Regions from separate parts of the Homo sapiens genome. Here region 1 is linked to region 2. Evidence: promoter capture Hi-C in human tissues and cell types (Jung and others, 2019). All regions are on one chromosome and are shown on one strand. Each heading gives the region's core, a stretch centred on a gene start or on the middle of the fragment in contact. The rest is flanking DNA. Distances are from core to core; before and after follow the strand shown. Region 1 overlaps DOCK10 (dedicator of cytokinesis 10). Region 2 holds the start of WDFY1 (WD repeat and FYVE domain containing 1).

Region 1 (5,480 bases), core at 555-3,054, 890 kb after region 2:
GCGATTCCCCTGCCTCTGCCTCCTGAGTAGCTGGGATTACAGGCATCTGTCACCACTCCTGGCTAATTTTGTTTTTGTATTTTTAGTAGAGATGGGGTTTCACCATGTTGGCCAGGCTGGTCTTGAACTCCTGACTTCAGGTGATCTGCCCATCTCAGCCTCCTAAAATGCTGGGATTACAGAGGTGAGCCACTGCACCTGGCCCACTCTACTTTTTTCTATGTTGTCTCGATATAGATCTCTTTTGCTTAGTATCTTTATATGCTAAGTTTCAATATGAACCTTATGCTGGAAACTGCAAGAGAAAAAGTCTATGAAAATCCATGACTCCTATCATTTTCCAGGAGTAAGCGTGACCCATGCCTAGTACTCACAGTTAAAGGACCATCTTTAAATTCTTACCTTTAGGACATGCTTTACTGTTGTTGAGTCATTTGATTTCAAAAGACCAGTCACATTTTTAGCCAGTTCCTCATGTACAGTCCTCTCCTTGCATGCCCTGGTCTTGAACACGAACTGAAGAAAATCCAAAAAGTGAATAAAGTTAAATACTTTGAAAAATGAAGCTTCAAAAACTATGTCATGTGAATAACTTATGTCTCTAAATTATCTGCTCATGCCAGATTTTGCCATGAGATAAATGCAGGCCCAATGATAAGAGCAGTACACACCTGTTCCTATTTAGGGCTTTGCAGAAGTAGGGCCTTGCTCACCTAAGCTCTCCTTGAAACTCTTTGTAGAAATCAAGAGAAAGAGCCAGAGAGCCATTTAGCACGTTCAAGGAAACATGGAGGGCTTTGACCCACCTACTTAGGACACATTCCCCTTCTCCTTCCTCCACTGGTAACAGGTGGCATGGTAGCAATTCTTCATCCTGAAAGGGTAGAGCACCCACTCAAATAGCCAAGTGGGGAAGCCAGTGCCTTCCAGATGCCAGTACGTGAGCTCCCCACAAGCCCAGGGTCTATGATCCCATGCTTAGACACACTATCAAGGCGTTCATGAACATTGGCCATCAGTAAGATAACAAATGCTGCATACTTATTTTTTTTCCTCAAAAAATTGGTTTTGGCATGCACCACTGAGGGCACATAATGGCTAGTTTTCAGTATTTCTTCATCTCTTAAGAATATCAGTATCAATTTATGCACATACATAAAGTTCAAATATAAAATGCTTATTACTGAATTATAATATTTCACTTATGAATTGGGTTTGCCTCGTGGAAGGACATTTCTTCATAATTTTCACAATTCGGATTTCACCGTAATTGAGAGTGAAGGCAGGAAAGAGAAGGAATGGCTTAATGTAGAGGCACATTAGCTTTTGGATCTGTAACTGTTTCTTTAAACTTTGTAGCACATTGGCACCTAACTTGTCATGGTGGGATTTGACTTCTCCAAGCTCATCTCAAAGGAGAAAGATGAAGTTAATGGATGCATGAAACTAGATAAAATCAAGAGTAATACAATTTTTCCCTCTCATGGGTTATACCTCAGATGTGAGTAACGTCATCATCAATGAGCTCATGCCATGCACAGTTATTTAGCCTGAAGGGCATTTAAACTGGCACTGAAATATTCTTATTTTAAAATTTTGACTGTAACCCATCAGTGCTACAAATCACTGTTAACCATGGCATTTAATTAGACTGGCTTTAGACACGCATCTTTGAAAAAGACACGGTGTATGTGTGCATTTTGCATATTGTAGACGAAGTGAGTTAGCAGCATTTAGCACCACTGAACTTGAAATGGTGTTTAGATAACTTCTAAATAAATACAAATTGTATTGAATATCACATCTTTGGAGGACATTCAAGCACGCACTGTAACAAGAGTCCAATCACAGGATGATAGAACTGAATGTTCCTTTGGTCATTTCATCTCATGTCACAGGAGAAAACTGAGGTTCAGAGAGGCTGACTGCTTAAGTCTAGAATTGACTAGAATCTAGTCTCTTACTTGCCAGCTTAGTGTTCTTTCCCGAGTAAAATGCGAGTTGATTACATTTATTAGGAGGTATTTGTTTTAGATATGTTAAAATTTATTATAAAATTGTTATCAGCCTAAAATTCCACATAGGTGTATTTTTGGATTTGAATCACTTAAAGCAAGCTAAGTAGATAATCTCCTGTATTATAAAGTGAGATGGTCTTGTTGGGTATTTCAGATACCCTGGTTAAAAATAAAGGTCACGCCAGGATGCATTTCTAATGCATCTCTCCAGGAGCGTCACCGGTAGAAAGTCTGAGATTTGAGGTATTCACAAAGAGCTAGCCTTGGTAATCACAAAAATAGTCACAACACCGGAGGGTTCTTAATGTAATTTTCAATGATCCCACTGACATGAGGAAAATAATATGTGTTGAAATGGAGATGCCTGTGTGTAAGATGGATCAGTAACTTTTTTTCTCTTTCTCAGTCCCTTTAAGGATTGAAATGAAACATTCGGGTAATGAAGCATTGAGAGGGTGAAAGTTCTCCAGGTGATTCTGTTGAATGGTAAATTCATCGATACTCTATAAAACTAAGCTATGACCCTATCTTAGGGAGCAAACTAAAAAGGCTTGTGTAGGTGGAACTGGCTTTTTGCAGTTGAGATGTGGATCTTATTGGGTAAAATTATACAATAGAGAAATTATTGTGAAATAACTATTTTTGGCATATAGCCTATGTTTAAAAAGGGCACATACTCATGCTTTGGCATTTGGGAAGACAACTAACATTTCTGGCAGATAGAAAACATATGGATATAAAAACTGTAATGAAAAAAATTTCCTTACAGATGGTATCTCAGAGGGGTTCACTCCAGAATGCAATTTCTGGTTACTTCCTTTTATGGGAGTGTGGAATTTTTTTTTTTTTTTTGAGATGGAGTCTTGCTCTGTTGCCCAGGCTGGAGTGCAGTGGCACAATCTTGGCTCACTGCAAGCTCTGCCTCCCGGGTTCACGCCATTCTGCAGCCTCAGCCTCCCAAGTAGCTGGGACTACAGGCGCCCACCACCACGCCTGGCTAATTTTTTGTATTTTTAGTAGAGACAGGGTTTCACTGTGTTAGCCAGGATGGTCTCAATCTCCTGACCTCGTGATCCGCCCGCCTCGGCCTCCCAAAGTGCTTGGATTACAGGCGTGAGCCACCACGCTTGGCCGATTTTTTTTTTAACAAGTTTCTAGACATCTTGAATATATGAGTATCTGTCTGTGCATACATATTAAGAGAATACAGTTTTTTGATGAAAAAGCTATGTCTCAAAAAGATTTAATCTATGCATAGGAAAAAAAATAAGAGATTTAGGTCCTCTATGTATTATAAAGTAATTTAAGATACTCTTCTGTATTTCTGGATGGGTTCTTTCTTTTCATTCAAGAGGATGACATTTAGGTGGGAACTATGAAAGTGCAAACATCATCACAAGTTCACTGGCATTAATCCACAGGCCAACTGGAAATGAGAATAGAAGCGTCTCTGAGTGAACACTTGACGTAGGACACTGGAAGAAGCAGTGCACACTGATGGAATGGGCAAGTGGTTCATGCCAGAAGATAAAGGACTTAACATACCAGAAGCAGGTACAAATATACAGTAACTGGGAAAATGAAATAATGCCTGAGGAAACAATAGAAAGAGCTAAGAAAGCATTACAGAGGAAACACAGAGCATTCAACAAACCAACAGGAAAGTCTTCCTTAAATTAACACAGGAATCTCATGTACTTGTAATGTTGACTTCAAAAGGACAGCACTTTAGTTTTCTCCTCTATCTTTTTCTTTCCTCTCTCTCCCCATTTAATTATTTATGTGCACAGGTACACATTATTTATACATTTAAAAATTCACCTAGCCCATTAATGCAAAGAGATGGAATTCTAAGTAGCTAAGGCAAATTCCTGATATTACTGTGGTGGGCGCCACTCAGTTAAAGGGAGAAAACTTCCCACTTACTGCAGACAGGAAATGAGACAAGTCACACAGCACAAGGGGATATGAGCAATTTCCAAGAGGCATTTCATACCTTAATATATGACTGGACAGAATGATCCAGCTGCTCCTCATGGCACTTGGCCACAATGTCGGTCAGAACCCTGCAAAAGCAAAGCTGTTCAGTGGCCTTTCTGGAGAGGGCAGAAAAACCCCGCTTTAGTTTGTCATTACAGTGCTTTGTAAATTGGGTATTTAATAATTACTGGGTGAATGAATGAACCAATCTCTGACTCCTTCCTTGCCCTCCTCAGCCCCATATCCAATACTGGGCATTTAATATCTATAGCATCAATGAGCCATTTCCATCGATTAGCCATTTCCAACTTTGAAACTTTGAAACACAAAGATGTAAGTAGTGTTGTAATATCACAATGGAGACTTTTTGTCCAAGTTGAATGTGCTAATTATGGTCTGTGCGTTTTTGACATTATCTTTTTGCAAAAGGGATTATTTTTAGTGCCTAATTAAAATTTTAGACTTTTAATTTCAAATTAATAATCATATTTCATTTGAAGAGGGCTTGCCTTCCAACCTATAGGCACTATATATGCTTTTGGAAAAAGTAATTAGGTTAAGATGCAGTTGTTTTGTTTTGCTTTGTTTTTCCCTTAGCTGGGTTGGGGTTTCTAGCAGCAATGATGTACAGGTGGATCTTTTTTCACATTAACACTACCAGCTGCTCCATGGCTATAGTGCTTAGGAATATCTCAGAATTTCAACAGATCTATCAGCTGCAATATCTAGGAGTCTTGCCAACACAGAGACACATTCACATGCTGAAAAGAGCATGAGTTGAAGGCACAGCTGGGGACTTTTGATGCAGGTCCAGAACTGGATGGTTGTGAAGCCATTAGAGATATTTAAATTGTCCAGAATTTCAGGCTCTGCTTTAAAAACTAGGCTACAAACCCTCATTCAGAAAGAGGTCAGTAATATGCCTGTGAGTTAGAAAGATACTGGAAACATTTCAATGCCAAAAGTAACATTTTTTTCCAGAATGCTATGACTAAATTTTTTAAAAAAATGAACAGCACAAATATATAATTTAATAATTAATTCAAAGCACTATCTCTATAAAGAAGAAATTGTGATTTGTGAAGGCATTGGCCAGATTAGAGATGTTGGAAGAATTCAGTATAGCCAAATTTAAAGTGAGAACAGTTAAAGCATTTAATACTTAAAAAAAAGGTTCTTGTGGGAATGCAAAATTATACAGCCACTCTGGAGAATAGGCACTTTCTTAAATATCAAACATGCAACCACCCTGCCCCCCAGCAATTACACTTTGGGCATTTACTTAAGAGAAACGAAGACTTATGTTTACACAAAACCTCTACATGAATGTTCATAGCACTTCTTTTTTTTTGAGACGGAGTCTTGCTCTTTCACCCAGGCTGGAGTGCAGTGGTGCAATCTCAGCTCACTGCAAGCTCCGCCTCCTGGGTTCATGCCATTCTCCTGCCTCAGCCTCCCGAGTAGCTGGGACTACAGGCACCC
Region 2 (5,534 bases), core at 966-3,465:
GCAGTGAGCCAAGATGATGCCACTGCACTCCATCCAGCCTGGGTGACAGAGCAAGCCTCCATCTTAAAAAAAAAAAAAAAAAGTCATTATTCTGTCCTTGCCTTTTTCAGGTCCCCACCTTCTCCCCAGGTCTCATGCACTCGATCTCTCTCACTCCTTTCTGCTTTACAGACCCACAGCCAGGTCCTGCCAATCACTCCCCTCCTTGTTGGAAGTCAGCTACAGGTGAACCAGCAGGGAGAGGCCACTGCCTGCTCACAATCAGCTCATTATCTAATTGAGGAAAAAGGCACAAGCTCACTCAAAAGCAAAATCCAAAGGACCAACAGGAGTTGGGGGCTTCAGGCTTTTTCTTCCCATTCAGGATAGGGTCAATGTCACTTCAAAAGGTATAATTACAAAAGGCTAGAGACCACGCCTTCAGCTTTAAGAGAATAGCAGTACCTTCCATCCTCCAGAAAGCTTTTGGACTTGTGGACTATCCCTATTTAAGACGGCTCATTGCATCAAGGAAACACAGTTTCATTCAATAAACATCAGTCATTTCCTTCAAATTCCCACCGGAAAGCTACTGACATTGTAAACCTTTAGGATTTGAAAGACGCTAAAGTTTAAAGTCGAATCATAAATACTGTTCCAATCCAATCACTCAGGCCCAGAGCTGGTGGGAGTTCTGGATTGCATTTCCGGCTTCACCAGTATCTCTGTAACTTAGCAGCAAGCTACACCTCCACCAGCCTCGGCTTCCTCTTAGGAGAAATGAGAAAACTGGACCCAATCAGTGTTTCCCAAAAGCATGGTGGGCGTCCAATGCAAGATGTCACAGTGCAAGAGAGGACTCTGTGTGCATGCCAATTAACATGTTTTAGTTATTAGTTTACTCTGTCTGGTGAGTAATGTTAGTTTTCCTAATAAATAAGATTTCCTTTTAAAATAAATGCATCCAAATATTTTTAAAAATGAGTCACTTTCACAAAAACCTATTTAGTAAATAAGAGTTCAGGTGATTCTAGCAGCCGTGGCAAAAATAACTGATCTAGAGGCCTGGCGTGGCGTGAAATCCCTGAGTACAGGGGGAGGAAGAGAGCGAAGGCGGCTGGAGTTCCTCGCAAAGAAGCAAGCCCCGGGCACCAGGGTCCGCAGTGACCAGCCGCCGGTCCTCCACGCTTCCAGAGGAGACGATTTGGAACTGACCCGGGAGGGCCAAGAAACACCTTCCGAGTACCAGGCTAAACCCCGCCAGGGAGAGAGACCGGGACGAAGGTCCCAGGCTAGTGCGACACCGCAGGTCGGGGTTCCCTGGTTGGAGGAGCGCGGTGGGCTGGGAGGGGCGCGTTGGTGCGCACTGGAACAGGGGTCCCCGGCTTGAGCAGCGCGGTGAGACAGAGTTCCCGCGCTGGAGGGGCGCGGTGAGACAGAGGTCCTGGGCTGGAGAGGTGCGTTGGGGCGCACTGGAACCGGGGTCCCGGGCTTGAGTGGCGCGGTGGGACAGAGTTCCCGGGCTGGAGGGGCGCAGTGGGACAGAAGATCCGGGCTAGAGGGGCGCGGTGGGACGGAGCTCCCGGGATGGACGGGCGCAGTGGGACAAGGGTCCCGGACTGGAGGGGCGCGTTGGGGAGCATTGGAACAGGGGTCCTGAGCAGGAGGGGCGAGGTGGGCTGGGAGGGGCGCGGTAGGGCGCACTGGAACAGGGGTCCTGGGCTGGAAAGACACGTTGGAACAAGGGTCCCGGGCTTGGGCGGCGCGGTGAGACGGAGTTCCCGGGCTGGAGGGGCGCGGTGGGACAGGGGATCCGGGCTGGAGGGGCGCGGCGAGACCGGGGTCCCAGGCTGGAAAGGTGCAAGTCGAGGCTGGAGGACCGGCGGGAGGGAACCGGGAACCCGGCGGAGCTAAGGGGCGCAGAGTGGGGGTGGGGCCGTGCTGCCGGGGGAGCCCCCTCACGCAGGAAGGACCGGGGCCGCGGACCCCACCGCCCCCACACCCCGTCGTCGCGGAGTTCGGGCCGCCCCGGCTGCGCCCGGGCCCTACCTGTCCTCGCTGGCCGTGATCACGCCGTCCTCCTTGGGGATGAGCAGCGCGGCCGTGACGGCGTCCTGGTGCCCCTCGATCTTGCTCAGCAGCACCGGGCGGCTGCTCTGCGGCCTGGAGTGGATTTCGGCCGCCATGTTCGCGCGGCGACTGCTGCGGCCTCCTCGGCAGGCAGCCCATCAGCTGACGCCTGGGCGGGCGGGGGACGCGCCGGTTTCCCTTCGGCTGCTGGGGCCTCTTGGGCGCCGCGCCGCCGTAAGCCCCCGAGTGCTGCCGCCGCACCGCCCGTATTGCCTGGGGATGCCGCGCAAGCTGAAAGTCTGTGGCTGGGAGAGGATGCCACGGGGCGCCTGCGGAGAAATGGGGAAAGTAAGGAAGGTTTAAAAGTAAAGCCATTCACCCAGGAATAAATTGAGCACCTGGAGGGGACAAGGAATTGTCCCCCAAACCAGAGATTTCAGAAATTACAATACTACATTTCATCCATTTGAAGAAGCCATTGTTTGAAAGGCACACACTTTCAGAAATGTTAAAATGTGAAAAAATATAGTGCATCTTAGAATCTTTGAACTACAATAGATAGCACTGAGTGGTGACCATATACCAGGCATTAACTCAGTGTCTTTGCATCTCATTTAATACTGATAATTTTAAGAGATGAAATAGATGCTCTTGTATTCCCATTTTAGAGATGAGAAAACAACCAGAGAAGTTTGATCACTACCTTAAGGTTGCACAGCTATGAGAGGGAGAAAAGCAGCCCTTGATCTCCAGGAGCTGCCTGGTACTATCAGCTGAGCTTTGGTGTTGCTAGGAAGTGTTTGCTTCCTGTGGAACATAAACATCAGACGAGGCCACTCCATAATCACATCTAAACACGGCCAAAATATGAGCGATGTACAAGCCACAGAAATTACCAAACATCCCCCTATCCTGGCTAATATGAGTGACTCTTATTTCTTTATTAATTATAATGTTAACCGCTATCTAGTCTTCCTCCATTTAGATAAGATTTATTAAGATATGCAACCTTAGAATTATACGCATTTCCTGACAACATCCAGTCCACAGGAGAGCCTCTCTTCCTTAAGCTCTCCCAGGTCACCTAACACAAACACAAATCCTATAATAAAACTGTCCGAACATCCCTTTACCCAGACACCTCACCATTCCCAATGGTGTGTCTTCTCCCTCCAACAAGCAATCAACCCCATTTGTTCCTGGTGGTTTTTGGCTAGAGGTCATTGACAACCAGTAAGTTCAAGAGCCAAAATTTGGACTCAGGAAGTCAATGACTCCAAACTTCTGCCCCACTATATTATTCTGACACCTGAATTGCAGAATTGCATTAGAACCGTACTATCCACATGACTATAGAGCACTTGAAATGTGGCTTGTCCAAACTGAGATGTAGTACAAGTGCAAAATACTACAAGATTTTATAGACTTAGCACAAAACAAAAAAGATGTAATATAGTTCATCAATAATTGTTACAATGATTACATGTTGAAATGATACTATTTTGGATATATTGAGTTAGATACTATTAAAATTAATATGACCTGCTTATTTTTTTAAGGTAGCTAATAAAAACTTTAAATTATGGATGTGAATCAGATGGTACTTCTATGTACAGTGATTTACTAGAACTTTCTTTTTGTTTTTGTTTTGTTTTGTTTTAGTTTTTTGAGACGAACTCACTCCGTCACCCAGGCTGGAGTGCAGTGGTGCGATCTCGGTTTACGGCAACCTCCGCCTCCCAGGTTAAAGGGATTCACCTGTCTCAGCTTCCCGAGTAGCTGGGATTACAAGCACCTACCACCATGCCTGGCTAATTTTGTATTTTTACTAGAGACAGGGTTTCACCATGTTGACCAGGCTGGTCTCAAACTTCTGCCCTCAAATCATCTGCCCACCTCAGCCTCCCAAAATGCTGGGATTACGGGCAGGAGCCACCATTGTACTAATACTTTCTCATGATGAAGTTATTAACAAACATTCATGAATTTATTTATTCCTATATTCAACAGACATATATCGCACACTTACTATATGCTGTTGCTGATGAGATTAATAAGACATGGTTTTTGTGAGGCTGTACAGTGTAATGACTAGACACGCTACTGAACAACTTTGTTTAATCAACCAACATCTCCCAAGTGCCTGCTGTGAGCCAGGTGCCATTCTAAATGCAGCAGTGCTCAAGAGAGACAAAAATCCCTCTGCTGTTAGAACTTACATCCCAGTGAAGGAAACAGATAGTAAACTAAATTATATAATATATTAGAAGATGTTCAATGCTATTAAATGCTATGGAGAAAATAAAGCAGGGAAGGGTGATAGGGACTCTAGGGGATGTTGCGATTTTAAATAGATGGTGTGATAGATTCAGGAATACACTGCACAGATCTGCTTTCAGGGAAGAACAGTGGTCAGCAGAGAGCCTCTAGCCTTCAGCTCCTTCAGGGACTGCCCCAGCTGCTGAGAACCACTGGGTCTCAGTTGTTCCCTTCACAGGGAAGCCCACATTCAGTAACTGAACAAGATAGGAGGATAAAGGCCTGACCATCAAGACAGACCGATGAGCAACACTTGCTCTAGAACTCTCTCCTAGATTGGACAAGGCTTTGTAAGGCGTGTACTGCAGCTGACTTCTCCTGCCTAATCCTGGTACCTCCCCCTCCCTTCACAGGCATTGATTCCTAATAAACACCCTCTGAGCCAACCTCTATCACCGTATCTGCTGCTGGAGAATGCAACCTGAGACAAGTAAAAGCCTCATTGTAAAGTTACATTTTGAGCCAAGAAGGAGAGGAGGGAGTAAGCCATGTGGAAATGTGGGCCAAATACTTTTCTGGAAAAGAAAAGAGCACGTGTTAAGGCATTGAGGTGAGCACATGCCAGGGGTTTTGTAGAGACAGCCAGGCACCCCGTGAGGCTGGAGCAGAGTGAGTGAGGGAGTGCTCAGAGAAAAACAGCACAGACAGGTCACCAGACAGACCATGTTGAGCCCAGAGACCATTGATAAGGGCTTTGGTTTTTACTTCAAATGAGATAGGAAGCCATTGGAGAGTTTCGAACAGAAGGCTGGTTTAATCTGCCTTCAAGTTTTTAAATTTGTATTCATTTATTTTTCGAGACGAAGTCTCACTCTGTCGTCCAGGCTGGAGTGCAGTGGTGCGATCCTGGCTCACTGCAACCTCCACCTCCTGGGTTCAAGTGATTCTCGTGCCTCAGCTTCTCAAGTAGCTGGGACTACAGGCACGTGCCACCACACCCAGCTAATTTTTGTACTTTTAGTAGAGAGGGTGTCACCATGTTGGCCAAGCTGGTTTCGAACTCCCAACCCCAGGTGATCCACCCACTTTGGCCTCCCAAAGTGCTGGGATTATTATAGGCATGAGCCACTGCGCCTGGGCTAATCTGCCTTCAATTTTAAAAGGCAAGAATAGAAGCAAGGTGTCAGTCAGGAAGTTATTTGAGAAATTAACAGGGTAATTGAGAA

The links. Contacts are between HindIII fragments. The study calls those that stand out against the background at their distance.
Region 1: a fragment that was not itself captured here is called in contact with the fragment with the promoter of WDFY1 in region 2 in 1 of the 25 tissues and cell types used here (dorsolateral prefrontal cortex).

The regions. Positions count from the first base shown.
Region 1 is chr2:224,833,748-224,839,227 of GRCh38, forward strand. It overlaps DOCK10 (dedicator of cytokinesis 10), which reads right to left. Exons shown (of 56, transcript NM_014689.3): 25 at 4,015-4,084; 26 at 403-516. Among named protein-coding and RNA genes, the nearest start is that of CCDC195, 120 kb to the left of the region's middle. The HindIII fragment of the contact is 5,250 bases long and covers 1-4,429 here.
Region 2 is chr2:223,943,120-223,948,653 of GRCh38, forward strand. WDFY1 (WD repeat and FYVE domain containing 1) reads right to left here and starts at 2,216. Exons shown (of 12, transcript NM_020830.5): 1 at 2,029-2,216. The coding sequence starts at 2,165. It overlaps LOC124907989 (a long non-coding RNA gene), which reads left to right and starts at 105. Exons shown (of 2, transcript XR_007088100.1): 1 at 105-1,288; 2 at 4,722-5,534. RefSeq lists enhancers at 1,028-1,147, 1,158-1,217 and a silencer at 1,788-1,967. The HindIII fragment of the contact is 3,551 bases long and covers 1-3,115 here.